Regions from separate parts of the Homo sapiens genome. Here all the other regions are linked to region 4. Evidence: promoter capture Hi-C in 16 types of primary human blood cells and fetal thymus (Javierre and others, 2016). All regions are on one chromosome and are shown on one strand. Each heading gives the region's core, a stretch centred on a gene start or on the middle of the fragment in contact. The rest is flanking DNA. Distances are from core to core; before and after follow the strand shown.

Region 1 (2,700 bases), core at 107-2,606, 510 kb before region 4:
AGTGGCCAGGGAATCATTCAGAAACCTTTGGAAGGTGCCCTTGAACGTGAATCATATTTAGGAGTATTGTTAAATAGGGATTTGGGAGGGTGAGTCGTGAGACCTGGTAGCCTGTTTTGACTGCTGCCAACAAGCCTGGATGGAGAGATCTTTATTTAGAGATAATATCATTGATATCTTAGAAAAGAGTGCTTTTAAAATGGTTTCAGTGGTACCCACATGTGTGTTGGATCAATTAATGATACCTCTGCTAACAACTTCCCACATAAAATTGAAAGAGAGAGAGAGAGAGACAGAGAGAAAAACCCCTTTGTAAATATGCTTGGGCCTGTAGCTACACGATCCACTGCCCTCCCCCCTCCAAAAAATAAAAAACCAAGACACCTAAATGCATACTTTTTGTTTGTTCCTGCCTGTGAAAGATAAATAGACCTCAGGAGGTAAAGTTCAGAAGTCTGCTGCCACATTTGTTTGATCTCTGGTTTATTATTTCTGGTCCTTTTCTCTCAGTCTCCTCAAAACAATGAATGTATGTTTATTAAACTATTGTTACCTTGCTCCTATGTTTGTATTACATCTTTTTTTTATATTTTGGAGTAAAAGAATTTGAAAGTTCCTAAATTTGAATTAGAGTTGTGTTGTTGTTTTTAAATTGGAGCTGAGAATAAACCTAACTTAGTGTTTTGGGCAGAAGTCTGGATGGCACACCTATGGAATTTTGGCTGAGGAGGTATTCCCTCTAATTTCTATAAGAGGGTCTGGAACTTGCTCTGCTTTTAGCACAGATCTTTGAGCTGGTGACATCATCAATGCTGCTTCCTCCACATTCATTTCTTAACTCTCCTAACTTTTAAGTCATCTTAGCTTCTTATCTCCCTAGACTAAGGAGCAAACTTAACTTACTTTCTGGCCTTATTGATATGAATGTGGTTGGTATTTGAGCATCTATCATGCAGTCATTCTGGAAGATACCTCAGTATAGTTTTGTGTAGGGGAAAGAACACTGGGCTTGGTAAGCCTTTAGACCTGAGTTAATATTCTGGCCCTGCCATTTATTCTCTTTATAATCTGAGCAAGTTAACTTTTTCTCAGCTTTCTACCTTTAAAATGTTGATGGATTTTTGGATCATCTGCAGTTTTTTTGCTGTTACAAATAAAGCTGCTATGAACATTCACACACAAGTCTGTGTGAATATATATGTTCTTTCTCTTGGGTATACATCTAGAAGTAGAATGGCTGTTTAACTTTTTAAGAAACTGCCAGCCCGGTGCGGTGGCTTATGCCTGTAATCCCAGCACTTTGGGAGAACGAGGCGGGTGGATCACCCGAGATCAGGAGTTCAAGACCAGCCTGGCCAACATGGTGAAACCCCGTCTCTATTAAAAATACAAAGAATTAGCTGGGCGTGGTGGTGCATGCCTGTAATCCTAGCTACTCGGGAGGCTGAGGCAGGAGAATCACTTGAACCTGGGAGGCAGAGGTTGCAGTGAGCCGAGATTGCATCATTGCACTCCAGCCTGGGCAACGAGCGAAACTCCATCCAAAAAAAAAAAAAAAAAAAGAAAGAAAGAAAAACTGCCAAACTGTTTTCCAAAGTGGTTATATCATTTTCCATTCCCACCAAAAGTGTATGAGAGTTCCAGGTCCTCATCATCATTGTCAACACTTAGTGTGAGCAGTCTTAATTTTAGCCACTCTTATTAAATGTATAATAGTATTAATTTGTGGCTTGAATTTGCATTAATGGCTAATTATGTTACTCTTTTTATGTGCTCATTTGCCATCTAACTTATCTCCTTTGGTGAAGTGCCTTTTCACATCTTTTGCTCATCTTTTCATTGGGACATTTTCTTATTAAATTTTGAGAGTTCGTTATATATTACAGATACTTAAGACATATACAAAGGCAGATGGACCATCATGTCTCTACTACTCGGTTTTGACTTTCATTTATCCATGTTTCTGTTTTTGTTTTTTTTTTTTTGAGACAGGGTCTGGCTCTGTTGCCCAGGCTGGAGTGTAATGGCACTATCTTGGCTCACTGCAACGTCTGCTTCCCGGACTCAAGTAATCCTCCCACCTCAGCTTACCAAGTAGCTGGGACCACAGGCCTGCACCACCACGCCTGGCTAATTTTTTTGTATTTTTGGTAGAGATGGGGTTTTGCCATGTTGTCTAGGCTGGCCTTGAGCTCCTGAGCTCAAGCAATCCACCTGTCTTGGCCTCCCAAAGTGCTGGAATTACAGGTGTGAGCCACTGCACCCAGCCTGATGTAGATCACTTTTATATTTAAATCTATGAAATTCATTTTTGATAGAAATAACTCATTTATTCAATACTTCATTTATTTAAGATTGGTGGCAATTTGGACCTGAGTTAGTTCAAATTTTGTATTTGGATTACCTGTGGGAAAAAAGGTTACTACCAAAGTAATTGCGTTAAGAGTGCAAAGAAAATTTTTACTCACTGAAGGGAACAAATATCTATAATATTTGGGAGATCCACAAGTGTATGTCAGAGCAAGTGCTTTGTTATACTACCTTTCTGTTAAATACTGTTTGTATACATAATCTTGGTAACTAACTTGAAACTAGATAAACATGCCACTACTGTATTATATAAATAGAAATACATTATACATATGGTGTATATATATAAATATAAATACATATATGAATATACATATAGTATACTTCAGC
Region 2 (2,700 bases), core at 91-2,590, 370 kb before region 4:
ATTCCTGTATTCTAAATAATCTGCATTTTTCCTTGTACCCTCTTATACAAACTAACATAAGTTTCTATCAGGGATCTTTCAAAACAGAAACAATATTCTTTTGGGTTACATGCTGGGCCCGATCTCTTCTTGCCAAGCAAACAACTATGCAAATATAACTGTACAAATTAAAGTTATTATGCACTTTCTGATACCACTTTCCTATTCTAAATTAGGGGAGAAATAGTCTGGATAAGATCCATAATTAGAAACAATATCCTGAAGAGAAAGCAAACTAAGTTGTATTACATTGTTTCGAGATACCTTGTTTAAAGAGTCACTTCTCAAAAGCTACTACTGTTGGCAGGGCGCGGTGGCACACGCCTGTAATCCCAGCGCTTTGGGAGGCCTAGGCGGGCAGATCACCTGAGGTCGGGAGTTCAAGACCAGCCTGACCAACATGGAGAAAATGTCTCTACTAAAAATATAAAATTAGCCGGGCGTGATGGCGCATGCCTGTAATCCCCTCAGGAGGCTGAGGCAGCAGAATCGTTTGAACCCAGGAGGCAGAGGCTGTGGTGAGCTGAGATCATGCCATTGCACTCCAACCTGGGCAACAAGAGCGAAACTCTGTCTCAAAAAATAAAAAACTAAAAAAAAAAAAAAAAAGCTACTGTTAACTAACCTACCCCACTTGGATCTACCAGATACTTTGAATGAGAGGTGGAAACCACTCTACTGACCTCCTTCCTACCCCTACTACCGCCACTCCAGCTTACAGTAATTATTTTCACAAAGACAGAAAGGAGTTATCAAATGACCACAATAACTCTAAAAACAGAAAGTGAGGTGATCTTTCTTATTCACAGTCCCACTTATTCATTTAGAAATGCTGAGCACCAAAACAAAACCTTATCACAAGTTCAGTATTTCGTTAATAACTGCCAAGTATAATGGAATACTCCCCAAAGTACTGCAGCATTAGAACATGACCACTCCACTAAATTAAAAATTCAGCGAAAGCTTTTCTAACAAGGCTGGATGGAGCACTAACTCAACGGCCAAACGGCTGCACTTCCTGTATATGCACGTTCAAAACACCTCGAATTAACATGCTAGGGACCTTGAAGAATTGTACTAGGCCTTGCTCAAGAGGAAGGCTTTGTAATACTGAATCCCAAAACTTGAAACAGCAGAATTACTTCAGGGAAGACGGAGGTGTTAAATATTCTGTAAAACCTGTTTCACTCTCACAACGATCAGTTTTAAAAAAAAGAGGGAGAACACTGACCTCATTAAGAGCATTCTGACAACACACATAGTTGAACATGAGTTGTGAAAAGAATTTTCAACTTCAGATCTGTCTGTCCATTCCCACTGAAACCTGAAGGAAGGATCGCAGCACCCAAAGGCGCCCACTGCTCAGTGCCAGCGGTGGGCGACACCAGGAGCCTGTCCTGGTCCCCTGGGTAAGCCCTGGAGCCTGGCCACTATGCCGGGCACGATCCACCAACCGTGAGGGCTGGGTCCCCTAGCCTCTGTCCAGGCGCCCCCCAAGAGCTTCCCCGAGGCCTGGGGACTCCTAACTCTCCACCCCCGGCCCCCGAGAGCACCACAAACGAGGACGCCACGAAGGGAGGCCCGTCGGCCAGTGGGAGGGACGCACGGCCAAGGGGGGCGAAAACTGGGGCGAAGCTTTCCGGGGAGGAACCCACGCCAGGGGCAGCCACGCCCCCCACCCCCAACTTCAAACCCGAGCGCTGCGAGCACCGAGCCCCACACGCTGCCTGACAGACGCGGGCGCGAGGCCGGCGCGGGAGAGGGTTCCTCGGGCACTCCAGGGGTATCGCCGCGACCCTAGCACGCGACCGCTCCCTGCGACTGACCTGTGCCTGCCGCCGCGCGACCGTCCGCCCCGCCGCAGCCTCCGCCTCCTCGCGCTCACGCTGCCGCCGCAGCCACCGGAGCCGCCTCCTGCGCTGCGCCCCAGGCCGGCCTCGGGCGCCCCATTCCCACCCCGCCCAGCCTCTGCCTGTTTACAATGATTGGGACGGAACGGGACGAGGCGGTCCAGCGCGCACGCGCATTCCCTCCTCCCGCCGCAGCCGGCTTCCCGGATCCTCCTCTCCGCTCAGACGGCTGAAGCCGTCAAGGGCAGGCGACCTGGGCTCTCGCGCGGGGCGCGCTGGGAGGCGTAGTTCCCAAGGCCCCGGCGTCCAGCCAGCCCGAAGGCCTCTCGCCAAGGAAGCAAACTACAACACCCAGGAGGCACCGCGCCCCCTTCGTCCCCAGGCTCGCTGAGGAGACTGAAGAAGAGCGCGAGAGAACGCGCCGAGGGCCAGTGCTCTGCAGGCGCCTGCGCAGTCGGTGGCCTTGCGGGTTTCGGGGACGGACGGCTTACCCCGGTGTGGTGCTGGCGAAGGTGGCTCGCGGGCATCTCCTGCAACGGCCTTGAGGATGGAAAGGGCTTTCCTCTCCACGCTCTGGCCAGCCTGCGCCTCAGCTCCCGAAGTTGAGAGCTTTCCTTGCGCCAGCGTGCTTTAGTCGTTCCAACCAGTTAAACCAGACTGGGGGCCGCCCGGCTGGCCGCTGGGTGGGGCGGCTGCCCCGCCTTCGACTGGGTGTGGGATTGGAGGAAAGAGCGCCGTGGGCCTGTAGGGATAGGCGGGAATAAACCTCTGTCGGGAACATCCACGGAATTCCTGAAGCGGGTGTGGGCTT
Region 3 (2,700 bases), core at 144-2,643, 470 kb before region 4:
GTTTTCCAGCCTCCACAGCAGAGCAAGAGCTGTCTCAAAAGGAAAAGGAATGCTAAACTTCAGGGAAATTGGTGTGTGGCAAAGTCAAGGTTTTAGTAACATACCAGTTTCCCATTGTTGTTGCCTTTGTCCGATTGTGTCCATCCTTCCATAAAACCTCTCATTTTCAAATGTTTTAAAAATTCCTGATTTTAAAAATAATACAGAAATACGACATGAAGTGGAATTCTATAACTTCTTTATCACCCCTCCTACATGAGACAGTCATCAAGAACAATAGTATATGCTTCAAGATCTTTGTGACATACTTTAAGTTAACATTATGTTTCTGGTACGTCTGTCTTGCTTCCTTCTAGTGAACAAATTAAAGTCTTTCCTACCTGAAAACATTAAATGTATTTATCACATTTTGTTGGCTTTATTGATTTTTATGTTCTTTGTGGCACTCTTGGTTTTCCTTATTCTTTTTGTTCTTGAGAACACAGCAGGACCTTCTTTAGTTTTGTTCTATGCAAATGTTTCATAGTATCTCATACTTAGATTATCATGGTTCAAACATTCAAGAGAGGATAAAAACAATTGAAAGTAAAAAAGAGCAAATAGGGGTTTGTTTGGGGTTTTTTTTTTAGACAGTCTTGCTCTGTCACCCAGGCTGGAGTACAGTGGTGTGATCACGGCTCACTACAGACTTAGCCTCATGGGTTCACGCGCTTCTTCCACCTCAGGCCCTGCCGAGTAGCTGGGACCACAGGCATGCGCCACCACGCCCTGCTAACTTTGGTATTTTTTGTAGAGACTGGATTTCGCCATGTTGCCCAGGCTGGTCTCAAACTGCTGGACTCAAGCGATCTGCCCAGCTCAGCCTCCCAGAGTGCTGGGATTACAGGCATGAGCCACTGCGCCCAGCCAGAGAAAATAGCTTGTAAGAATTTTTCAGTCCTAGCTAAAGTTCTGAATCTGGGCTTCCTTTAGAAAAGCTTCATTATTATCCTAAACATACTTCGGCATTTGAAAGTAGATTATTAAATATACATAATGTGTGCGTATATAATTCTTTTTCAAAATGATTCCTTTATTATTGTCCTTTTTATCTTCCTAGGTTCGCCAAGCAGCTTTTCAGTCTCTGGGACCTTTCATATCTACTTTTGCTAATCCATCTAGCTCAGGCCAGTATTTTAAAGAAGAAAGCAAAAGTTCAGAAGAGATGTCAGTAGAAAACAAAAATAGGTATAATTTTGAAACCATTTTCTAATTTTAAAACCTTGTTTTCTAATTTTACTGCTTTTAAACATTATTTCCACTATTCTGCAACAAATGTTATTTTTTGATAGTTTGCTATTTCTCTTGAATATAAAAATTGGTGAATATTTTTATAGAGCTTTACTTTAAGCGCATTTGTTTGTTAAGTATCTCTTTGGTTGGTTACATATTGAATGAGTAGATGCATGTAACACAATTAGCTAGATGCCTCGCACATAGGAAACTCTAAATGGTAGATTATGACTTTTAAAAAATGTTTATTTAGTACATTATTTAGTCAATCATTCATTGATATCTACAATATACAGGGTAATTGTTACACACTGTGTAGTATTTGGGTTTTTTTAAATTTGTTTTTAAGGAGTAAAACTTAATTTAGGAATATGTTTTATTGTCCTTTTCTGTCAAATAATTTAGTTGCGCATCTTGGATTCTTTGTCAATGGTGATTGTAATCTGTCAGTTAAAGGAGAAAGCCAGTATATTAGCCAGTATATCAGTTTTAAGTATATCAGTCTCATAAGGAAACCAAAGTTTTAAATAAAGCTTAAAGAGTCGGCTGTGATTTTTATTTTTAAATGTTTTTGCATTGAAAATTTTCTATTAAATTTAAATTTTAAAAATTTATTATAATATATATTTAGGGGAAAAACTAATTCAAGCCTAACTTACTAGTATGCGGGAAATGTACACAAACTTTTACAGTTATGCACTTGAAGTAATTTTAGTACAAATATTTGAAACAGTCCCTGCTATAATGCTTGAGTTACCATAGTGTCTTTTCCCTCCCTTGTCATGATGCTAATGGACATTTTCTTCTGTAGGTCTTGATACTGTGCTATTTGCTTTCTTGGTGTTTTGATTTGGCAGTTCTTCTTTCTTCTCTGCTGCCTTGTTTTACCTTTTTGCCCGTTCTCCTACTGTCCTGCTGAATAGCCAAACAAACCTGAGGTACTGTTTTTTGTAAAGGAAGAAAATCACTCAAACCTGTCTTCCTAGCAAGCAAAGTCTGTCAGTTTTTTTGAAAACAGGTGCTGCCAGGACTTTGACAAAAGTGATGATGGTGGGTGGGGAATGTTATCTATTTTTCATTTTTGAAATCAGCATACTTAAAAAATTACCTGTTTATACTGAAGACTGTTACATAACTTCTGTTTTAAAATCTGAAATGGGTCTAGTAAGAAACTATAAATTTGCAGAGAACTGTATAGGACGAGCTGGTAAACTTTCTTCTGTTTCACAACTACTCACTCGGCCTTTGCAGTGTATAAGCAGCCGTAGACATTACATAAATGGACAAGCTTGGCTGTGTTCCAGTAAAACTTCACTGACCTCAACAGTGTGCCTATCAAGGCCATGTTTGCCGCCTACCGGTGTGTAGCATTACTGCAATAGCTATTTAAAGGTAGTTCAATTCCTTGATTCTTCTTCCATTGTAATG
Region 4 (2,700 bases), core at 166-2,665:
TATTACCTTCAGGAAAAATCTTATGCACCTTGAAACCACATTGGATGACCCTATTCATCTCTCTAACACTGTACTTTTACATTGTCTCAACCTTAAAGTTCCTCTTACATGAGACTATCAATTCCAAAAGAACGGGAACTGTCTAAATCTTTTCCTTATCTGTAATATGAGGAAAAAGTAATACCAGCCTCAAAAATGAGATGTGGAATGTAGATATTTAACTCGGTGCTTGGCATACAGAAAACAGTTATCAAATGACTATCATTATTATCCACACTGTTAACTAGAGCTCAGCAGTGCATGACGTACAGTAAGACTTCAAATGTTTATTGAAAGACTGAACTCTGCAAAAAGGAATATTCCCATTTTACAACTGAAGAAACTGAGGAAGATTAACAGCACAAAGTCATAGAGCCACAAAAGGCAGTTAAGCTAACATCCAAACTCGAGTCTAACTCTAAAGCCCTGAATTCATTCTCAATGAATATACACTAGCTCCCTCTTGCTGAGAACTGACTTAACCTATTTCACTCTTAGAAAACAAACAAAACTAAGGCTTCTTTCCAGTATTACTTGTGTAACAGGCCCTGTTGTTATAATCGACATTTCTGGAAATCTGCATTTTTAGATTAACGTGAAGGAGTGTTTCAACTTCTCTGCAATTCAATTTCCTTGCCTACCATGAGATGTACTTGGATCTCAAAAAGATCATTTAATCTCTAAAATCCTGTGGTTCTTTAATTGGGTGCTGTTATTTGCGGCGCCGTTCTTTCAGAGTTAGTTTGATACCGTTTATTTAGCCAGCATTTCCGATATGCAAAGCACAACTGCAGTAAATCAAACATTGGCCACCCTTTTCCAGCCCTAATGAAGTTCTCCCTAAGCCTTCACGAAGCAAGCCAGAGCTCTCCAGTATGCTGCAACCTAAAAGCATCGAGGTCACTAGGCTTGAAACGAGAGGTGCCTCCTTCGGAGCGACGGTCTTCGAAACTGATCTGGCCAGAGCAGGCCTAGATTCTGCGCTACAGCAAAACAGCAAAAACAAACAAACATATATATATATATCACCAAGCAGCCCCTCTTTTCTGTCCTCCTCGACCAAACTAGGAGTACACTTCCCAGTATGGCAACCCTCCCTCGGGGCTTCTCACGGTGGGGCTGCAGCGGCCTCCCTAAGAGGGCTAAGGCCGCAGTGTCCTTGCCGCCGCCTGCAGGCCCGTGCAGAGCCCAGGGCTCTCCTGCGCCCAAAACTAAGGGAGACACGGAGAGCAAGAGAAGGGCGGCGGCAGCGCCGGGCTCAGCTTGAGCCTCCTTACCCAGTGGGCGGTGAGGCCAGCCGCCCGGGCCCGGAGCGCCGCGGAGAAGAACATGGCGGGCCACACTGTTCACCTTCCCCAGCCGCGCCAGGCGAGAATCCCGAGCGCGCCCAGGGCGCACAGCGTGCGCGCTCCCGACCCCAGGCCTAGGCGACCCGGACGGCACGCCGCTCCCTTCGCCGAGGGGCGGGGGCTGACGGGAGGGAGCGAGGGCGCGCGGGGGCTGCTGGGGCCCTGTGGGCGGAGACTTCCCGGGGGAGGGGCGGGGACCAGTCCGTGCTCGGAAAGGGAGGTGTCCTACGGGCCGCTGCAGGGGTCCCGGCCTTGAAAAGAAGCGTCCCGGAGCTGCACCTTGGGCTCCTGGGTAACGAAGCGCCCGCCTGGATTTATAGGGGTGAGCTTCCCTCATGGAGAGCCTTGTGAGGATTAGCCACCTCCTCTTATATTGCTGTTAGTTAAAAATAAAGTCGGGTTGCAACCCACTATAAATCTTATTCTACATGTTACGAATTCAAGACACAGAGGGCTGCTATCCAGTGTGCTAGCCATAGACACCAAATGTCTTGGTTCCCAATCTTTTGCATTAGAGATATGTGCGACATATTTAGGGGTTAAATGGTATGATGTCTGGAATTTGCTTGAGAATAGTGGGGAGCGGGAGGTGAAAAATAAAGCAAGTTGGCCGTTAAGTAAGGCCATAGAAGCTGCATGGTCGTTCTTATTTACTATTCTCGGTACTTTTGTACATATTAGATATTTTCCATAATAAAGCTGAAAAAAAAACCCACTTCCTTCTTCATGTTTGTTTGGTTATCTCTGGAAATTCCAACAAGTATTTATTCAGTAACAGCTCTAATGTGCACAGCACTATTTCCTGGTGTGGACTTCCTCTTGATTTTTTACGTCACTGCCTTCTTTTCTGGAGTGTCACGTCCTGTACCCACCCCCTTCCTTTTGCCCATTTTCTTTGCTATAATAAACTTGTGAATAATTTCTAGAACATTCACAGCAGCACAGGGATTTTAAAAATTTATCCCTCATTAGTTTAAAAACTCAGAAATATTCCATTGCAACCCCTATGAATCATATTTCGCAAATCACAGAATTCAAGACACAGAGGACTGCTGCCCAGTGAGCTAGAAATAGATACCAAATGCCTTGGTTCCCACTCCTTTGCCTTATATTTTATGTTAGTTTGCCTCTCCTAAATTAGCTTCAGTATTTCCCTTTAAAAGGAAAAGACAGTCTGGCCCTTAATGTAAATGTATTTTGTTATAAAGTTACCTAAATACTTATACACCTGGCCGGGCGCGTGGCTCACGCCTGTAATCCCAGCACTTTGGGAGGCTGAGGTGGGCAGATCACGAGGTCAGGAGATCGAGAC
Region 5 (2,700 bases), core at 19-2,518, 440 kb before region 4:
ATTACAGGTGTGAGACACCACAGCCGGCCAACAGTTTTAGTTTTATCTTATAGAAATTATTTTCGTTAAGAATTCTTTTTCTGGCCGGGCGCAGTGGCTCACGCCTGTAATCCCAGCACTTTGTGAGGCCGAGGCGGGCGGATCACGAGGTCAGGAGATTGAGATCATCCTGGCTAACACGGTGAAACCCCGTCTCTACTAAAAAATACAAAAACAATTAGCCGGGCGTGGTGGCAGTCACCTGTAGTCCCAGCTACGCGGGAGGCTGTGGCAGGAGAATGGCGTGAACCTGGGAGGCGGAGCTTGCAGTGAGCTGAGATCGAGATCGCGCCACTGCACTCCAGCCTGGGGGACAGAGCGAGACTCCGTCTCAAAAAAATAGTTCTTTAATTCTTTTCCTAGAAAACTTGACAAATGATCAATAATCCACTTTCAGTCCATGTGATGTTTTGCAGCATGGCTATGAGTTTAATTTCTACCATGTCTTTCTTTTAGGGCAAATTTTGCTGATTTAGAGTTGACAAGATTACTTGCAGTTTTTAGTAATTTTACCATGATTATTTCACCCCATCTGCTTTTTAGTGTTAATATTACCAATAATTGTTGCTAGTTGGATACAAGACAGCTACTGAGTAGTATTTTCAGTAGTTCCATGGGAAGAGCCACCACCTCGCCAGAGGCTCCTGAGCCGCGTTTGGGTGCGGGCCCACATTGTCCTGCTGTTCCCAATCCCCAGGAGATGCCCGGCCGTGGACAGGAGAGCGCAAGCTGGTCCTCCAGCACCGTGAGGAATTCAGCGTGGACAAGAGGAAGTTCCGCAGGGAACATCCCACAGGCAGATGCTGAGGGGAGGGAGAGGGAGCCAGGAGGGCATCCACAAGGAAAGGGGAGCCCTAGCAAGCTCAGGCTAGAATAGGGGCTTGTCCCACTGGCTGGGCAAAAGGCCAAGGGATAACAGGGGTGGACACTGTAAGACTGCTGGCCCACCTTCCTGGATGGTCATTTACTGAGATTTTCCTGGTTTTTCTGTTGTAGCTTTTAAGTATCTAGTGAAATGTTGTTGGACATTTAGAAAGTTTCCTTTTTTTTTTTTTTTTTTGAGATGGAGTCTCACTCTGTTGCCCAGGTGGGAGTGCAGAGGCACAATCTCGGCTCACTGCAACCTCTGCCTCCCGGGTTCAATCAATTCTCCTGCCTCAGCCTCCTGAGTAGCTAGGATTAGAGGTGCACGGTGCCGCGCCTGGCTAATTAATTTTTGTATTTTCAGTAGAGACAGGGTTTCACCATGTTGGCCAGGTTGGTCTCGATCTCTGGACCTCGTGATCCACCCGCCTCAGCCTCCCATAAGTGCTGGGATTACAGGCATGAGCCACCGCACCCGGCCTGGTGCCTGTTTTCCAAAAGTTAACATGTGGCTAAGTCACCTGGGGACTTGGTTCAAATGCAGATTCAGATTCCATAGGTCTGGGGTGGGGCCAAGAGACCTGGCCTTCCTGAGACTGAAGCCATAATGCAGTCTGTTGGTGTAGGATTTTATCTTTGCCACGTTAAACTCTTTGCATAATTTTGATATCTTAACCCACAATGATCAGAGATTTTAAACATTTAATATTTATATTTTACTTCCTTGGCTGCAAATCAGCACTTCCAAACTCTACATGTCAAAGCCCACATGACCACTAGTGGTCGTCATGGCTTGTGGTGGTCACGGCTTGTGGGGGTCACAGCTTGTGGCTGTAGTGGCTGCTGCGGCATCACTGCCACCCTGGGGGCAGCCAGGGTCAGTCATGGACAGGGCACAGCTGCCCCAGACCCATCCGCTTGGCTCAGTCTTTTACTAGCAAGCCGTGTCCCTTTGCGAGTGGTAGGTGGCCTGCAGGGATCAGTAGGAGGCTGTACGCTTGATTGGTGAATCTCCCCACAATTTTAATTTGAGGCAAAGAGCCAAACCTTGTCAATGCTGAGTCCTTCCTTCCCCTCCCCAGCTGGACCTACTCGATCCCTTCAGTTTCTTGGATTCTGCCCGACATTCACCTGCTTTGGGTGTTCTGTTTCCCTCAAATAACAAGGACTCCTTATCTGTGCAGCACTCAAGATCACAGTCACCTTTCACAGCGTGGACAGAGTTCACGAGTCAAAATACAGGACACTCAATTCAACTGCAGTTGCGTGGGACATACTTACAGTTACACTAAGAAAACATCCATCGTTGATCTGAAATTCTGATGTAAGGGAGAGTCCTGTACCTTCCATGGCCTCCCTACAGCAAGGTCAGCCTAAGTGGGCAGGTGTGAGCCTGCCGAGCTCTCCACCATGGCTCCCTCTTCAGGGAGTTCCTTCCTGGCCTCGCCAGCCTGTGGTGCAGTATGCGTGAGGCAGAACTCAACCCTCCTCATTCGAGAGAACTTCCCATTCCTTCTCTCCGACTGCTCTCTGTCATTGGAACAGTCTTAACAGTAGTGAGATGATATGAGGGTTTTTATCCCCACATGAGAAACTCAAGAACTGCTGGTGTGACCCTTTTCAGAAGGCTAGAGCTGCCCTTCCAAAGGGGAGCTTCTTGCTCTAATTGTAGCTGCAGCGTTCAGCATCGCCTTCTGGTACCCAGGCTCTGGCCCCACAGGCAGGGGCCCCGCTGGCACCTCCATATCAGACACAGATCACGCCTGCTTTCCCTCCCAGATGCAGCAATTTTGATCC
Region 6 (2,700 bases), core at 142-2,641, 440 kb after region 4:
CCAGCTGATTTTTGTATTTTTAGTAGAGACGGGGTTTCACCATGTTGGCCAGGCTGGTCTCAAACTCCTGACCTCAGGTGATCCACCTGCCTCAGCCTCCCAAAGTGCTGGGATTACAGGCGTGAGCCATGGCACCCAGCCAAGTAATATTTCATTGTATGTATAGACCACGTTTTGCTTCTCCGTTTATCTGTTGATGGACATTTGCATTGTTTCTGGGTTTGGCTTTTATGAATAATGCTGCTCTGAACATCCAAGTACAAGTGTGTATGTGATATATGTCTTTGTTTCTATCGAATATATATCCAAGAGAGTAGAAGTGGCTGAGTCATATGGTGAGTCATATGCTGGGTCTTATGGTAATATGTTTAACTTTTTGAAGTGGGGGAGAATAGGATCTGGAGGCAGGAAACCTAAGGCTGATTCACCCTGACTTCCTAGAACTAAATCAAAAGAAAAATCCCAGCTTTCCATGCCCAAGTACCAAAAGGACCAGAGGCTACTCTCTTTGCAAACCCCCACCTTTTCTGCAAGGCAGATGGAAAATTGGAAGTACCTCTAATTGGTTGCTTTCTGCAACCAGACGTTTGCATAGGAAGGTAGCTTTGTAACTTCAGCCTCTGACTGTAGGCCAAGTCTTCATTTGCATAGGAGTGCATCTTTGTAACTTCACTTTAGCTTCTGATTGGTTGCTTTCCGCAACTAATCAGACTGATTGCAGGCCACCACTTCATTTACATGGGGTGAACACCAAGTGGCCAATGGGAAACCTCTAGAGGGTATTTGGACCCAAGAAGATTCTCTATCCGGGGCCCTTGAGCTGCTGCTTGGGCCGCTCCCACGCTATGGAGTATACTTTCATTTTCAGTAAATCTCTGCTTTCGTTGCTTCATTCTTTCCTTGCTTTGCTGTGCATTTTGTCCAATTCTTTGTTCGAAATGCCTAGAAACTGGACAACCTGCAGTCAAGACCCTCCACCAGTAACAGAAGAACTACCGATTTTTTTTCCCAAAGTGGCTGCACCCTTCAATATTCCCACCATCAGTGTAAGAGAGTTCCAATTTCACCACATCCTCACCAACACTTGGTAGTATGTATGTTTCTGATAATAGCCATCCTCTTGGGTATTAAGAAGGCTTTCATTCTGGTTTTGGTTTGCATTTCCCTAATGACTAGCGATGTTGAGCATCTTTCCATGTGCTTTGGCCATTGGTATACCTGCTTTGGATAAATGTCTATTCAAATTATTTGCCCATTTTTAAAATTAGGTTGTGTTTTCATTATTGAATTGTAAGAATTCTTTATATATTCTGGATATAAGTCCTTGTCAGAGACATGATTTGCAAAGATTTTGATACAGACAACATTTTTTGTGCATTGTTTTCCCACTTTCTTGATAGTTTGTAGCACAAAAGTTTTTAATTTTTAATTTTTTATAGAGACAGTGTCTTGCTATGTTGCCCAGGCTGGTTTCGAACTCCTGACGAAAGTTTATCATTTTGATGAAGTCTACTATATCTGTTTTTTCCTTTTGTTGTTTTGTGCAATTGATGCCATATTTAAGAAGACATTACCCAAAGTCATGAAGATTTACTCCTGAGTTTTATTCTAAGAGTTTTAGTTGGACCTATTTTGACCTACTTTATGTGTATTATGTGAGGTTGGGGAACTGACTTTATTCCAGATATCCTATCTTTACCAAAGGCTTGAGTGTCTATTACTGAATGAAAATTGTTTTAGATTTTTGACAAGTGTGCTTGAATTTCAGAGCAGGGACTTGGGCTCAGTATCTTTGAGGTAGGTAGCAAATGATTCCTTTTCACAGTAAAAACAAATAAAAACCTGATCTCTTTATTTGTTGAACAGTTTCTTCTTTTCTGTCTTTAGTTCTCTCTCTTTGTCAAAATACTGAACTTTCCAAATCCTTATCTTTTCTTTAGTTTCCTTTCTTTTTCACTTGCCATTATATTGTAATATTGCAAGCACATTCCTATATTAGAACACACACACACACACACACACACACACACACACACACACACACACACGGCCCCATTTCTCCCACTTCTTCATCTATCCTGTGCTTTCGTTACCGTTCTCTAGGTCAGCCCAGGGTTCTGGTCAGCAAATGAGCCTGATGCCATCACTCTCTCATTCACCCCACATCTCTTTGGGGCAAACCAGAACCCTCACCAGACTGACCTCCAGTTTAGGCTCTGCTGTGTACTGAACATGTAGATCTGAGGAAGCAGCATCCACGTCAGGCACCATGCATAAAAGGGAGGGTTGGATGGGATCGATCACAGATATTGGAAGGATATGATCCCTCTTCCGATCACTCACAGTGGGTCTTTGCTCACCTCAGGTGTGTATTGACCTTACAACAAATTGCACAATGGGTCCCTCCCAACCCGAGGCTACCTTCCTTTCTCTTGGGTGAAAAATTGCAGTTAGAATGAAGTGCAGATCCCTCTCCAAGGCCTGCGAGTCATGTGAGCCACTCACCTCCCTTGGCCACTGTCCTCTGCTTGCTGGGTGCATCTGGCCGGTTTCTGCTCCTGAGCCCTGCTGGGGGCCTGTCCCCAGGTCTGCTTGAGGCTGTCCTCCCCCTAATGTCTTGGCGGGCAGGCCTCAGCCTCGGGAGCGTTCTCTGAGCACCTAGGGAAGTCACAGCCCTCACCTCAGCTTCTTCACTCTTGA
Region 7 (2,700 bases), core at 181-2,680, 390 kb before region 4:
TAGCACATAATCAGGAAATAACTATAAGTATATTCAGTCGAGCAGCCCATGCTGCTGCTCTGCCTATGGAGTAGCGATTCATTTCTTTCTTTACTTTCTTAATAAACTAATGCTTTCACTTTAAGGACTCTCCTCAAATTCCTTCTTGGGTGAGGTCTAAAAACCCTATCCTGGGTTCTGATCAGGACATCTTTCCAGTAACACTTCTGATGGGACCAGCTATAAATCATGGTTCCCATGACCCCTGCCTTGGGTTTGATTAATTTCCTAGAGCAGCTCACAGAACCTAGGAATACACTTAGGTTTACACTTATGTTCAGTTTATTATAAAGGATACACAAAGGGTATAGATGAAGAGATGCACAGGGCAAGGCATGTAGGAAGGAGTGCAGAGCTTCCGTGCCCTCTCTGGCTACACTAACCTCCAGGAACTTCTACCTGTTCTGCAATCAAAAAGCTCTCGGAACCCCATCTTCTTAAATTTTTGATGGAGACTTCATTGGATAGGCATGTTGAAGTATGGACAAACATGCAGAAATGCGACTGAACAAAAAGGGTATAATCTAATACTAATAGATTGAGTGGGGAAACCCAGTAAGGCCTGTTTTGTTCAGATTCTTCTTGGCCTCTCTGTGCAGCATTGCTTCCTCCATGGTATGGGACAAGATCCATTTTGAAATGGGGGTCTTATGACCTAAAATCAGACAATGTAAGTCAGAGAATTCCTTTATGGCCAGCTTGTGGACAGAAAGCCGGGGGAAGATTAGAGCATGTTTTTAGTTTCTATGGCCTGCCTTGGGGAGAAAAATGAGCAAGTGAACAAAGACCAGGAGAAGGCCAGAGAGAGAGAGATCTGTCTTCTGAGGCCTACTTCTGAGATCTAAAGTACTCCAACATTATAACAAAAGACTGTCTTTCACCTTTATTGCTCAGAAGCTGTTTCAAAGCTTCTTCAGGAACCAAAGACAAAAGGCAAAATACTTTAACAAAAGATATGCTTATTGTTTAAGTCACTTAAGAAATAACAGGGGCTATGGGAGTTATGAGCCAGGAATTCTGGATGAAAACATATATGGACAGATAGATAAACAGATAGATCTATATATCTCATATCACACAGATCAAGCTGCAAAATCTATAGGATATACAATTTAGTTTCTTTAGTTAATGCTCTGGAAAAAAAAAAGAGAGGGAGGGTGAACATAAAAATTAAGAGTCTTAAGACTGAAAGATTGAAAAGACAAGCCACATTGAAATAAAATACTTATAGAAAATATATCCAATAAAGTACTATTACCCAAAAATATACACAGAACTCTTTAGGCCAGGTGCGGTGGCTCATGCCTGTAATCCCAGCACTTTGGGAGGCCAAGGCAGGCGGATCACCTGAAGTCAGGAGTTCGAGACCAGCCTGGCCAACATGAAAATCCCGTCTCTACTAAAAACACAAAAATTAGCCGAGAATGGTGGCAGGCGCCTGTAATCCCAGCTAATCGGGAGGCTGAGGCAGGAGAATCGCTTGAACCTGGGAGGCAGAGGTTGCAGTGAGCCAAGATAGTGCCATTGCACTCCAGCCTGGGGGAATTTTGTCTCAAAAAAAAAAAAAAAAAAAAAAAACTCTTTAAACTAAACAGTAAGAAAACAATTCATTTTGTTTAAATGGGCAAAAGACCTGAACAGGCACCTCACCAAAGATATGTAAATGGAAAATAAGCACATGAGAAGATGCTCAGCATGCTATATCATTGGAGAACTACCAATTAAAACAATGTGATACTACCACATACCATTATTATGGCAAAACCCAAAATGCTACCACCACCAAATGCTGGCAAGGATATAGAGCAACAGGAACTTTTATCCATGGCTGATAGGAATGCAATATGGCACAGCCACTTTGGAAGAAAGCTTGGCAGTTTCTTACAAAACTAAACATACTCTTCCTATATGATCCATCAATCGCACTCCTTGGTATTTACCCAAATGAATTGAGAACTTATGTACATGCAAAAACCGGCACATAGATGTTTATAGCAGGTATATTATAAATCCCCCCAAAAAAGGCAGCAATGGATAAACTGTGGTATATCCAGATAATGGAATATTATTTAGTGCTAAAAAGAGATGAGCTATCAAGTCATGAAAAGATACAGAGGAAATGTAAATGCATATTACTAAGTAAAAGAAGTTGAGCACAGTGGCTGACAACTGCGATCCCAGCACTTTTGGAGACCAAGGTGGGCGGACTGCTTAAGCACAGCAGTCAGAGAACAGCCTGGGCAACATGGCAAAACCTCATCTCTACCCAAAAAAAAAAAAGAAAAAATTAGCTGGGTGTGGTGGTGCACACCTGTAGTCCCAGCTACTTGGGAGGCTGAGATGGGAGGATCACCTGAGCCTAGCAGGTAGAGGCTCAGCAGTGAGCTGAGATCCCAGCGCTTCACCCCAACCTGCACGACAAAGCAAGACCTTGTCTCAAAAAAAAAGACGTTAATTAAAAAGGCCATATGACATTCTGCAAAAAGCAAAACTATAGAGACAGTAGAAGGATTAGTAGTAGCCAGGGTTTAGGGAGGAGGAAGAAATGAATAGGTGGAACACAGAGGATTGTTGGGGCAGTGAAGCTATTCTGTATTGGTACTTTAGTGGTGGACACATGTTCATTATTCATTTGTCTAAACACACGGAATGTACAGCATA

The links. Contacts are between HindIII fragments. The CHiCAGO score rates a contact against its expected background, and 5 or more counts as called.
Region 1: a fragment that was not itself captured here is called in contact with the fragment with the promoter of NDUFV2 in region 4 in 1 of 17 cell types (erythroblasts); the score reaches 7.1 in erythroblasts.
Region 2: a contact is called between a fragment that was not itself captured here and the fragment with the promoter of NDUFV2 in region 4, in 11 of 17 cell types (megakaryocytes, erythroblasts, fetal thymus and 8 more). The highest score is 11.7, in megakaryocytes.
Region 3: a contact is called between a fragment that was not itself captured here and the fragment with the promoter of NDUFV2 in region 4, in 1 of 17 cell types (M0 macrophages). The highest score is 5.3, in M0 macrophages.
Region 5: a fragment that was not itself captured here is called in contact with the fragment with the promoter of NDUFV2 in region 4 in 1 of 17 cell types (M2 macrophages); the score reaches 5.6 in M2 macrophages.
Region 6: a fragment that was not itself captured here is called in contact with the fragment with the promoter of NDUFV2 in region 4 in 1 of 17 cell types (naive B cells); the score reaches 5.8 in naive B cells.
Region 7: a fragment that was not itself captured here is called in contact with the fragment with the promoter of NDUFV2 in region 4 in 6 of 17 cell types (M2 macrophages, erythroblasts, naive CD8 T cells and 3 more); the score reaches 7.1 in M2 macrophages.

The regions. Positions count from the first base shown.
Region 1 is chr18:9,606,646-9,609,345 of GRCh38, reverse strand. All of the region lies in intron 2 of PPP4R1 (protein phosphatase 4 regulatory subunit 1), which reads left to right. Among named protein-coding and RNA genes, the nearest start is that of PPP4R1, 6.6 kb to the left of the region's middle. The HindIII fragment of the contact is 2,824 bases long and covers 1-2,700 here.
Region 2 is chr18:9,474,857-9,477,556 of GRCh38, reverse strand. RALBP1 (ralA binding protein 1) reads right to left here and starts at 2,044. Exons shown (of 10, transcript NM_006788.4): 1 at 1,866-2,044. RefSeq lists enhancers at 1,414-1,473, 1,212-2,080 and a silencer at 1,704-2,113. The HindIII fragment of the contact is 672 bases long and covers 1,005-1,676 here.
Region 3 is chr18:9,575,591-9,578,290 of GRCh38, reverse strand. It overlaps PPP4R1 (protein phosphatase 4 regulatory subunit 1), which reads left to right. Exons shown (of 20, transcript NM_001042388.3): 10 at 1,100-1,227. Among named protein-coding and RNA genes, the nearest start is that of PPP4R1, 38 kb to the left of the region's middle. The HindIII fragment of the contact is 828 bases long and covers 980-1,807 here.
Region 4 is chr18:9,101,414-9,104,113 of GRCh38, reverse strand. It overlaps NDUFV2 (NADH:ubiquinone oxidoreductase core subunit V2), which reads right to left and starts at 1,415. Exons shown (of 8, transcript NM_021074.5): 1 at 1,317-1,415. The coding sequence starts at 1,370. RefSeq lists an enhancer at 346-1,055 and a silencer at 1,328-1,687. The HindIII fragment of the contact is 6,653 bases long and covers 1-2,700 here.
Region 5 is chr18:9,539,768-9,542,467 of GRCh38, reverse strand. No RefSeq gene overlaps it. Among named protein-coding and RNA genes, the nearest start is that of RALBP1, 66 kb to the right of the region's middle. The HindIII fragment of the contact is 6,194 bases long and covers 1-2,700 here.
Region 6 is chr18:8,663,402-8,666,101 of GRCh38, reverse strand. No RefSeq gene overlaps it. Among named protein-coding and RNA genes, the nearest start is that of RAB12-AS1, 28 kb to the right of the region's middle. The HindIII fragment of the contact is 6,278 bases long and covers 1-2,700 here.
Region 7 is chr18:9,492,042-9,494,741 of GRCh38, reverse strand. All of the region lies in intron 1 of RALBP1 (ralA binding protein 1), which reads right to left. Among named protein-coding and RNA genes, the nearest start is that of RALBP1, 18 kb to the right of the region's middle. The HindIII fragment of the contact is 961 bases long and covers 950-1,910 here.